Regions from separate parts of the Homo sapiens genome. Here all the other regions are linked to region 1. The links are contacts of gene promoters, found by promoter capture Hi-C in human tissues and cell types (Jung and others, 2019). All regions are on one chromosome and are shown on one strand. Each heading gives the region's core, a stretch centred on a gene start or on the middle of the fragment in contact. The rest is flanking DNA. Distances are from core to core; before and after follow the strand shown. Region 1 holds the start of BHLHA9 (basic helix-loop-helix family member a9). Region 2 overlaps MYO1C (myosin IC). Region 3 overlaps CRK (CRK proto-oncogene, adaptor protein). Region 4 overlaps ABR (ABR activator of RhoGEF and GTPase).

What was found. The method cuts DNA at HindIII sites, captures the fragments that hold promoters and counts their contacts. A contact is called where the count stands out against the background at its distance.
Region 2: a fragment that was not itself captured here is called in contact with the fragment with the promoter of BHLHA9 in region 1 in 1 of the 25 tissues and cell types used here (spleen).
Region 3: a contact is called between a fragment that was not itself captured here and the fragment with the promoter of BHLHA9 in region 1, in 1 of the 25 tissues and cell types used here (stomach).
Region 4: a contact is called between a fragment that was not itself captured here and the fragment with the promoter of BHLHA9 in region 1, in 2 of the 25 tissues and cell types used here (adrenal gland and mesendoderm cells).

What each region holds. Positions count from the first base shown.
Region 1 is chr17:1,269,173-1,271,704 of GRCh38, reverse strand. BHLHA9 (basic helix-loop-helix family member a9) reads right to left here and starts at 1,261. Exons shown (of 1, transcript NM_001164405.2): 1 at 1-1,261. The coding sequence starts at 1,141. The coding sequence ends at 434. RefSeq lists enhancers at 109-859, 2,464-2,532. The HindIII fragment of the contact is 29,201 bases long and covers 1-2,532 here.
Region 2 is chr17:1,478,106-1,480,637 of GRCh38, reverse strand. It overlaps MYO1C (myosin IC), which reads left to right. Exons shown (of 32, transcript NM_001080779.2): 7 at 13-111; 8 at 933-1,046; 9 at 1,136-1,207; 10 at 1,903-2,022; 11 at 2,146-2,228; 12 at 2,446-2,532. Among named protein-coding and RNA genes, the nearest start is that of MYO1C, 13 kb to the left of the region's middle. The HindIII fragment of the contact is 9,477 bases long and covers 1-2,532 here.
Region 3 is chr17:1,439,192-1,441,723 of GRCh38, reverse strand. The region is part of intron 1 of CRK (CRK proto-oncogene, adaptor protein); the gene reads left to right. Among named protein-coding and RNA genes, the nearest start is that of CRK, 16 kb to the left of the region's middle. The HindIII fragment of the contact is 5,312 bases long and covers 1-2,532 here.
Region 4 is chr17:1,140,536-1,143,067 of GRCh38, reverse strand. The region is part of intron 1 of ABR (ABR activator of RhoGEF and GTPase); the gene reads left to right. Among named protein-coding and RNA genes, the nearest start is that of ABR, 38 kb to the left of the region's middle. The HindIII fragment of the contact is 6,228 bases long and covers 1-2,532 here.

The DNA of each region.
Region 1 (2,532 bases), core at 12-2,511:
GTGCCCACGAGACCACAGCAGGCCCCACCCGCATTCCCACGCTCCCACACCTCCTGCCTCAAAGCCCTCACTCTCCTAAAAGCATCGAGAACACACAGGGCTCGGAGGCGCAGGAGTGCGAAGGCGGCATTCCAAGACGAGTTCGAGTCCAAGATGAGTTCAGGATCCTGAGCCTTTCTGGCAACTGCCTCCCTAGGCTGGGATGTGGGGGCGCAGCCCCAGGCCCCGGAGCTCCTTCTCTCTGCCCCAGGCTGGGATGTGGGGGCGCAACCCCGGGTCCCGGAGCTCCTTCTCTCTGGCGAGCTCCTTCTCTTCCACGCCAGGTCTCAGCCGGTCCAGTTCTGCTCTGTCCAAGACGCCTTTGCAGTCCCGGGTTTTATAGTCCAGCTGCCAGCCCGGCCTCCCTGCAGCCCAGCCGGTGCCTCGAGGCCGGTCAGGAGCGCGGATGGCCCATCCCGGGGGCGGATCGCAGGTAGCCCCGCGGCCAGGGAGGCGGCCCGGCAGAGGAAGCCCCCGGACAGCGGCGCCAGCTTCCCCCGGAGGCCTGTGCTAGGCCCGGCCCCTCGGCCACCGCACTGGGCCGTGCCAGGGGCGCGTGCGGGGGGCACGAGGCGCAGCGGGGCGCGGACGGCACCGAGGGGCGGGCGGCGTCTGGGCGCGCGAGGCTGGGCCCTGCAGGCGGCGGGGGGCTGGCGCCTGTGTCCCCGGTGTCCCCGCGCGCGGCCGGGCCGTGGCACTCCAGGTGTCCGCAGGGCCCGCGGGGCGCGGGGCTGGCGCGCAGGACCAGGGAGAGCGCGGCGATGCGGTGGATGGCCCTGCGCAGCGTGGCGATCTTGGAGAGCCTCTTGCCGCCCAGGTCGTGCCGCAGCGCCCGGCGCAGCGCGTTGAAGGCCTCGTTGTAGTCTAGGATGCGCTTGCGCTCCCGCACGTTGGCGGCCATGCGCCGCGCCTTGGACCGCACCGGCCGCGCGCGCCTCCTGCCCGCCGGCTCCTCCGCCTCGCCCCGGCTGCAGGAAGCGCCGTTCGCCCCCAGCACCCCCGAATCGCCCCCGGGCTCGGGGCAGGGGCCCCCCAAGTCCTCCGCAGAGTCCTCGGCCCCCTTCCGCGCCGTGAGGCCTAGTCCTGGCGCGCCCCGCAGCATGGCCTTCCCGGGCACTCGCCCTCTGCCCCAGCCCCGGCCCTCTGCCCTCTGCCCTCTGCCCACTGCCTTGGCCCGGCTCGCGACGCGGACGGTCCCCGGCTCCTGGGGCTGGACACTCCCGAGACAGGCCCCTTCCAGCTGGGCTTTATGGCACCACGCGGCGCCCCGCCCTCCCGTCCATCCATCTCCCTCCTCCTGCTTTATTATCGGCCTCCAGGTAGGTCGGCGGGGGAGGAACCGAGGGGAAGAAGGAAAGCAAGGAGGGAAGCTTGCAGGTTCTTGTAAGCGGGGACCAGACGGGCAGCCCGGCCACGCTGCCCCGGGGACCTTGCCCTGCCTAGCTCTGGGGCCGCTGTGGGGTGTCTGGGTTCCACATTCTTCCTCCCCATTCCCAGATAAGGTGCTAAGTTTGGCTTCTAGCAGGAGAGCTGATAGGAATAAAAAGAGGCAGAGGGCCGGGCACTGGGGCTCACGCCTGTCATCCCAGCAGTTTGGGAGGCCGAGGCGGGCGGATCACTTGAGTTCAGGAGTTCGAGACCAGCCTGGCCAACAGAGTATATAAAACCCCGTCTACTAAAAACACAAAAATTAGCCGGGCGTGGTGGCAGGCGCCTGTAATCCCAGTTACTCGGGAGGCTGAGGCAGGAGAATGGCTTGAGCCCAGGAGCTGGAGGTTGCAGTGAGCCGAGATCGCACCACTGCACTCTAGCCTGGGAGACAGAACGAGACTCCGTCTCAGAAAAACAACAACAAAAACAACAACAAAACCTTGAAAGTTCTTGTCAAGTCCCGTGGGCAACCACAGAGATGTCACTGAGGAAAAGCATGAGTGTCCCGGCAGGACTCATATGGGAGGCGCAGGGCCCTGCAGGTAAAGCTGACCCAGAGCTTCCGGCTTTTTCAGCTATGGAGGGCGGCTGGCTGCAATTGGGGTTCGGGTTTTGGTTGGGCCTGACTCTCCCTCCACTGCCCTTTGACTCCCCTTCTGCAGGCAGAGCTGGGATGAGTCAGCAGCAGAGGGTGACGGGGAAGATCCCTTTGCAGCCCTGGGTCCACATCAGGGGCATCTTTGGGGTCCAGAGCCCTCGGGCAGCCCCATCTTGTGACACAGCCCTGCCAGGTTATGAACTCAATGAGCAGCCTCTGTCCTCTTCCCCCAGGGATTTGCATTTGAAAGAGGGTCTCAGAAAAAAGATGATGTTTATTCCCAAAGAAAGACCCCCAGTAGAATTTCCGGCATCCACAGCTGAGTTATTTGGAGCGCCTGAAGGCCACTCATTCCCAGTCACAATCCAAATGCCTCTAAGATGCCAAGGCCTATGGCATTGGAATGGGTGTGTGGTTCACATCCATCTCGCCAAAAGAGCATTGCCAATAACCCCATTATTTCA
Region 2 (2,532 bases), core at 18-2,517, 210 kb before region 1:
CCCTTCCTCCAGGGCCAGTGTGCCAAAGTCTCCTCCATCAACGACAAGAGTGACTGGAAGGTCGTCAGGAAGGCTCTGACAGTCATTGATTTCACCGAGGATGAAGTGGAGGTGAGGCCTCTTCCGGGACCCTCGCTTTCCTCCTGTCACACCCCCAAAATCTCCTTTTTTTTTTGTTTTTTATTTTTTGAGACGGAGTTTCATTCTTGTTGCCCAGGCTGGAGTGCAGTGGTGCAATCTCAGCTCACTGCAACCTCCGCCTCCTGGGTTCAAGCAATTCTCCTGCCTCAGCCTCCCGAGTAGCTGGGATTACAGGCGCCCGCCACCACGCCCAGCTAATTTTTTGTAGTTTTAGTAGAGACGGAGTTTCACCATGTTGGCCAGCCTGGTCTCGAACTCCCGACCTCAGGTGATCCGCCTGCCTCAGCCTCTCAAAGTGCTGGGATTACAGGCGTGGGCCAGTAATCCCTTTTTTTTTTTTTTTTTTTTTTTTGAGATGGAGTCTCGCTCTTTCGCCCAGGCTGGAGTGCAGTGGTGCGATCTCAGTTCACTGCAACCTCTGCCTCCAGGTTAAAGTGATTCTCATGCCTCAGCCTCCTGAGTAGTTGGGATTACAGACACCTGCCACCACACCTGGCTAATTTTTGTATTTTTAATAATGATGGGGTTTTGCCATGTTGGCTGGGCTGGTCTCGAACTCCTGACCTCAGATGATCCTCCCGCCTCAGCCTCCCAAAGTGCTGGGATTACAGGCGTCAGCCACCGTGCCCATCCCACCCGCAGAATCACCTTCCACCTTTAACACCCATTCCCACTTCCAGCCCCTTCTCTCCGACACTTCACCACCCACCCCTGCATGGCCATCTGCTAGTTGCCCTCTTGGGGCTCTCTGGCCCCTCTCACCCCCTCCTGCCCCCGGCCTGCTCCCCCAGGACCTGCTGAGCATCGTGGCCAGCGTCCTTCATTTGGGCAACATCCACTTTGCTGCCAACGAGGAGAGCAATGCCCAGGTCACCACCGAGAACCAGCTCAAGTATCTGACCAGGGTGAGTGGGGCGGGCAGAGGGCGACGGGAGGACGGCGGGGGCGGGGGCTGGGGGTGCACCCTCACCGTGTCCTCGCCTGCCCTTGGCAGCTCCTCAGCGTGGAAGGCTCGACGCTGCGAGAAGCCCTGACACACAGGAAGATCATCGCCAAGGGGGAGGAGGTGAGGCCGGGCCCTTGCCCTCGGGTGTGGAGGGGCAGCTGTTCCAAGGCAGCCCCTACTCCCATCACTCCCCTTCGCCTGGTTCCCTCAGCAATGCTGGAGGGATGGAAGGAAGGCTGCTCAGAGAAGCAGAGTGAGAGCCGAGCGCCGTGGCTCACGCCTGTAACCCCAGCACTTGGGGAGGCTGAGGTGGGCAGGTCACCTGAGGTCAGGAGTTCGAGACCATCTTGGCCAACATGGTGAAACCCCATCTACTAAGAATACAAAAATTAGCCGGGCATGGTGGCGGGCGCCTGTAATCCCAGCTACTCGGGAGGCTGAGGCAGGAGAATCGCTTGAACCCGGGAGGTGGAGGTTGCAGTGAGCCGAGATCACGGCAACAGAGCTAGACTCTGTCTCAAAAAAAAGAAGCAGCACAGTGAGCTGGCCAGGGTCACATAGGAAGAGAGTAACAGTCCGGCTAGAACCAGACTCCCACCTCGGGAAGGAGGCCTCCTGTCCCTCTACCACCTTCCCTCTGGGGTGGCCACCTGTCCTCCCTGAGGTCCCACTACCAGCACCCCTCCCCATACTGCAGGCTTGCTGGAGCTGGGAGTGCAGAGTGGTGGCGGCTTCCTGGTCTGCCTGAGCCTGGGAGCAGGTGGGATGCACAGGCTCTGTGGCATTCATCTCCTTGTCTCACGCTGCGTCCACAGCTCCTGAGCCCGCTGAACCTGGAGCAGGCCGCGTACGCACGAGACGCCCTCGCCAAGGCTGTGTACAGCCGCACTTTTACCTGGCTCGTCGGGAAGATCAACAGGTCGCTGGCCTCCAAGGTGAGGGCTCGGTCCACACTGCTCCCAAGGCAGAAGGGAGGGCCGTCGGCGAGGCGGGGGGTGCTGCAGGGTGGGGCTGGCACGCGCAGGGGGCCCACGCCTTCGGTTGAATGACTGCCCTAGGACGTGGAGAGCCCCAGCTGGCGGAGCACCACGGTTCTCGGGCTCCTGGATATTTATGGCTTTGAAGTGTTTCAGCATAACAGGTCGGTGCCATCTTTCCCCCGTCTCTCCTCCCGGTCTCCTGTCCTGCTCCCTCTCTTCTGTCCTCCAGCCTCTCATTCCTGCCCTGTGACTCCCCAGCCAGCCGGGGACTGTCTCTGTGTTTCTCACCTCCTGTGCTCAGGGGCGTCGTCCAGCTTTTCCCCTCTCCTGGTCCTGTGTCCCCACTGAGCCACTGTGGGCTCTTCTCCTTCCTTACAGCTTTGAGCAGTTCTGCATCAATTACTGCAACGAGAAGCTGCAGCAGCTCTTCATCGAGCTCACGCTCAAGTCGGAGCAGGAGGAGTA
Region 3 (2,532 bases), core at 14-2,513, 170 kb before region 1:
GGTCAGGAGTTGTAGACCAGCCTGGCCAAGATGGTGAAACCTTGTCTCTACTAAAAATACAAAAATTAGCCGGGTGTGGTGGCGCGGGCCTGTAGTCCCAGCTACTCGGGAGGCTGAGGCAGGAGAGTTGCTTGAACCCGGGAGGTGGAGGTTGCCGTGAGCCAAGATGGCTCCAGTGCACTCCAGCCTGGGTGACAAGAATGTGACTCCATCTCAAAAAAAAAAATCAGCTGGGTGCAATGCCACCCGCACCTTTAGTCCCAGCTACTCAGAAGGCTGAGGTGGGAGAATATCTTGAGCCCAGGAGTTTGAGACTGCGGTGAGCTGTGATCACACTACTGCACTCCAGCTTGGACAACAGAGTTAGACCCTGTCTCTAAAAAGAAATAACAAAATCATGTACTCAGGAGACTAAGGTGAGAGGATCGCTGGACCCAGGAGTTTAAGATGAGCCTGGGCCACATAGGGAGTCTCCTGTCTCAAAAAACAAAGCCAAGGCCAGGCGTGGTGGCTCACGCCTGTAATACTAGCACTTTGGGAGGCCAAGGCAGATGGATAACTTGAGCTCAGGAATTCGAGACTGGCTTGGGCAACATGGCGAAATCCCATTACTACAAAAAATTAGTTGGGCGTGGTGATGCGTGCCTGTAGGCCCAGCTACTCAGGAGGCTGAGGTAAGAGGATGGCTTCAGCCTGGGAGGTAGAGGTTGCACTCAGCTGAGGTCTGCACTCCCGCCTGGGTGACAGAGCCAGACCACTCTGTCACAAGACAACAACAAAGCCAAAAACTCACAAAACTCATTTGGATTTTAGGTTTTTTGAGACAAGGTCTCTCTCTTTTGCCCAGGCTGGAATGCAGTGGCATGATCACGACTCACGGTAGCCTTGACTCCCTGGGCTCAGGCGATTCTCCCACCTCAGCTTCTCGAGAAGCTGGGACTAACAGACATGCACCACCTTGCCTGGCTAATGGTTTTTTTGTTTGTTTGTTTGTTTGTTTTTGAGACGAAGTCTCGCTCTCCTGTCCTCATGATCCACCCGCCTCGGCCTCCCAAAGTGCTGGGATTACAGGTGTGAGCCACGTGCCCGGCTTGTTTTTTGTTTTTTTAGGAGATTGGGTCTCACTTTATTGCCCAGGCTGGTCTTGAACTACTGGCCTCAATCAGTCCTCCTGCCTTGGCCTCCCAAAGTGCTGGGATTACAGACGTAAACCACTGTGCCCAGTCATTTTTTTTCAAACATTTATTTTTTCTTTTTTTAAGAGTCAAGGTCTTGCTCGGTCCCCCAGGCTGGAGTGCGTTGACACGATCATGGCTCAGTGTACTCACAAACTCCTAGGCTCAAGCGATCTCTCACCTCAGCCTCCCAAGTAGCTGCAACTGCAGGCATGCACCACTATGCCTGGCTAATTTTTTTTTTTTTTTTGAGACAGAGTCCCGCTCTGTCGCCCAGGCTGGAGTGCAGTGGCGCGATCTCGGCTCACCGCAAGCTCTGCCTCCTGGGTTCATGCCATTCTCCTGCCTCAGCCTCCCTAGCAGCTGGGACTACAGGTGCCCACCACCACGCCCAGCTAATTTTTTGTATTTTTAGTAGAGACGGGGTTTCACCGTGTTAGCCAGGATGGTCTTGATCTCCTGACCTTGTGATCCACCTGCCTCAGCCTCCCAAAGTGCTGGGATTACAGGCGTGAGCCACCGCGCCTGTCCAACCTGGCTAATTTTTAAATAATTTTTGTAGTGATGAGGTCTTGGCTGTGTTGCCTACGCTGGTCTCAAAATCCTGCACTTAAGTGATCCTCCCACCTCAGCCTCCTAAAGTTCTAGGATTACAGGTGTGAGGCACCACGCCCAACAAAATTCATTTTCTTTTTTTTGTTTGTTTGACACAGAGTCTTGCTCTGTTGCCCAGGCTGGAGTGCAGTGGCGTGATCATGGCTCACTGTAGCCTTGACCTTCCAGGCTCAAGCCATCCCCCTACCTGAGTGTCCTGAGTAGCTGGGACTACAAAAGTGTGCCACCATGCCCAGCTAATTTTTTAAGTTTTTTGCAGTGACAGCCATGTTGCCCGGGTTGGTCTTGAACTCCTGAGCTCCAGGGATCCACCTGCCTCAGCTTCCCTAAGTGCTGGGGTTAGAGATGTGAGCAACCGTGCCCAGCTAAAACTCATTCTCTATGGAGAATGTTTACTAGTTGTTATTATTAGAGAGTTGTTTATTACTTCTTCAGGAAACCATAATGTGAAAAATCCAATGAAAATAGTTTGCTGTTTTGGGTGCTTAGCCGAGTGGGAGTTAAAGGTTTGCATTCCTAATTAGAAACTTTGTGGCCGGGTGCAGTGGCCCACACCTGTAATCAATCCCAGCACTTTGGGAGGCCGAGGCGGGTGGATCACTAGGTCAGGAGATCGAGACCATCCTGGCTAACACGGTAAAACCCCGTCTCTATTAAAAATACAAAAAAAATTAGCCAGGCATGGTGGCGGGTGCCTGTAGTCCCAGCTACTCGGGAGGCTGAGGCAGGAGAATGACGTGAA
Region 4 (2,532 bases), core at 21-2,520, 130 kb after region 1:
GCCCCCCAGGAGCGAGCTGCCCCCCAGGAATGAGCTGTCCCCCAGGAGCGAGCTGTCCCCAGGAATGAGCTGTCCCCCAGGAGCGAGCTGTCCCCCAGGAGTGAGCTTCCTCCCAGGAGTGAGCTGCCCCACAGCCTCTGCCCGGCCTCCAGTTGCCGCTTTGCTGGGCTAATGAGGGGCTCCAGGCCTCGGGGTGAGGGTGGCGCTGTCTGTGCTCCCAGTGGCTGCTACAGGCCAGGCCGAGGGTCCTGAGTGAATGAGACAGGGGCCGACCCCCACCCACCCCTGCCTGTCTGTGGTTCACAATCAGAGCAAAGCCCTTTCCGTCCGTCTTGTCTTCTCTTCCCCAGCGAATCCCACAGTCCCCAAGACTGAGGACAAGCCCTGCCTCTTCCGGGCAGCCTTCCCTGTGCTGGCTGAATTGATCACGCGCCTGGCTGATGGCTTCATAGGCTGCTTCAGAGTATTTTTTTTTTTTTTTTGAGATGGAGTTTCGCTCTTATCGCCCAGGCTGGAGTGCAATGGTGTGATCTCAGCTCACTGCAACATCCGCCTCCCGGGTTCAAGCGATTCTCCTGCCTCAGCCCCCCGAGTAGCTGGGATTACAGACATCTGTCACCATACCCGGCTAATTTTTATATTTTTAGTAGAGACGGGGTTTCTCTATGTTGGCCAGGCTGGTCTCGAACTCTCGACTTCAGGTGATCCGCCTGCCTCGGCCTCCCAAAGTGCTGGGATGACAGGCGTGAGCCACTGTGCCCAGCAAGAGTCTTAGTTCCATTTGGTTGTAAAGACGCTCACTTCAGTGTCCCTGTCTGAACCTGGCGGCTCTTGGCCTTCCTATACATTAGAGTCACCTGGGGAGCTTTTAACAGGCCTGATGCCCAGGCCATTCCATACCAATTCAGTAGCAATCCCTGGGGTAGGAGCCAGAGAGCTTCCCAACTCCCCAGGGATTCCAGTGTGCAGTGAAGATTGGAACAGTTATCTTAGGATTCAAGTCATGAACTGGCCGGGCGCAGTGGCTCACACCTGTAATCCCAGCACTTTGGGAGGCCGAGGCAGGTGGATCACCTGAGGTCAGGAGTTTGAGACCATCCTGGCTAACATGGTGAAACCCTACCTCTACTAAAAATACAAAATTATCCGGGCGTGGTGGCGGGCACCTGTAATCCCAGCTACTCAGGAGACTGAGGCAGGAGAATTGCTTGAACCGGGGAGGTGGAGGTTGCAGTGAGCCAAGATTGTGCCATTGTACTCTAGCGTGGGAGACAGAGCAAGACTCTGTCTCCAAAAAAAAAAAGAATTTAAGTCGTAACTAGTCCACCAGCCTGTGCTGAATGGAGGCTGACTGATGAACAGCAGAGTTAGCTGACAAAGCTTGCTGTAGTCTTAACTCACTGCAAATTGCCAAAGCCCTGGTTTGTTTTTTAAGGGCTGGGAGGTCCCTAAGGGTTCTTGGTACTCAGGAAGGAGAGCAGGGGAATAATGATAATAGCTGCCGTTTTGTTAGCGCCAGCTTTGGGTGCCTTGCATAGCATATATTTCCTCATTGTAACCTCGCAAAAGCTTCATGAGGTATAGATCTTGTTTTTATCCTCATTTTAGAGATGAGAAAACTGAGGCTCTGAATGGCTAAGTAGCTTGCCCAAGGTCACATGGCTAAGGTCACATTCCCGAAGTGCTAATCTCAGGAATGGAACCCGAGTGTGATTCCAAAGCCTCTGCCCTTGACCACTGAGCTGTCCTGGCTCCCCAACCTCTGCTCCATCAATCAAAGAATGGGGGGCCCTGAGAAGGAGGTGGCTTGTCCCGTGGGAAAGATGCTGGTTTCCAGGATTCCTCCCCTTGGAGCCAGGCCCTGACTGAGGGGCTCCCGATGGTATTAAATATCTCCTGGATCAGCTGGGGTCACCTGGACCCTGAAGGTGTCTACTTTCCCGTTGCCTACGACACCCACTCGGCTTCAGCTGAGCTTTCCCAAGGACCCTTCTGCCCTGATACTGTGCCCAGTTCTTTAACCTACATCATGTTATTTAATGTCATTTTCACAACCACCCTGTGACATGGTATCGTTATCCTCATCTTGTTTCTTTGAGACAGTCTCACTCTGTCACCCAGGCTGGAGTGCTGTGGTGCGATCTCAGCTCACTGCAACCTCTGCCTCCCAGTGCAATAGAAGACTGGCCGGGCGCGGTGGCTCACACTTGTCATCTCAGCACTTTGGGAAGCCGAGGTGGGCGGATCACTTGAGGTCAGGAGTTCGAGACCAGCCTGGCCAACATGGTGAAACCCCATCTCTACTAAAAATACAAAAATTAGCCGGGCATGGTGGCGGGTGCCTGTGATCCCAGCTACTTGGGAGGCTGAGACAGGAGAATTGCTTGAACCTGGGAGGCGGAGGTTGCAGTGAGCTGAGATCCCACCACTGCACTCCAGCCTGGGTGACAGATTGAGACTTCGTCTCCAAAAATAAATAAATCAATAAAATAAAGTGCAGTAGAAGACAGTGTCCTTATTGTTGTAGGTGAG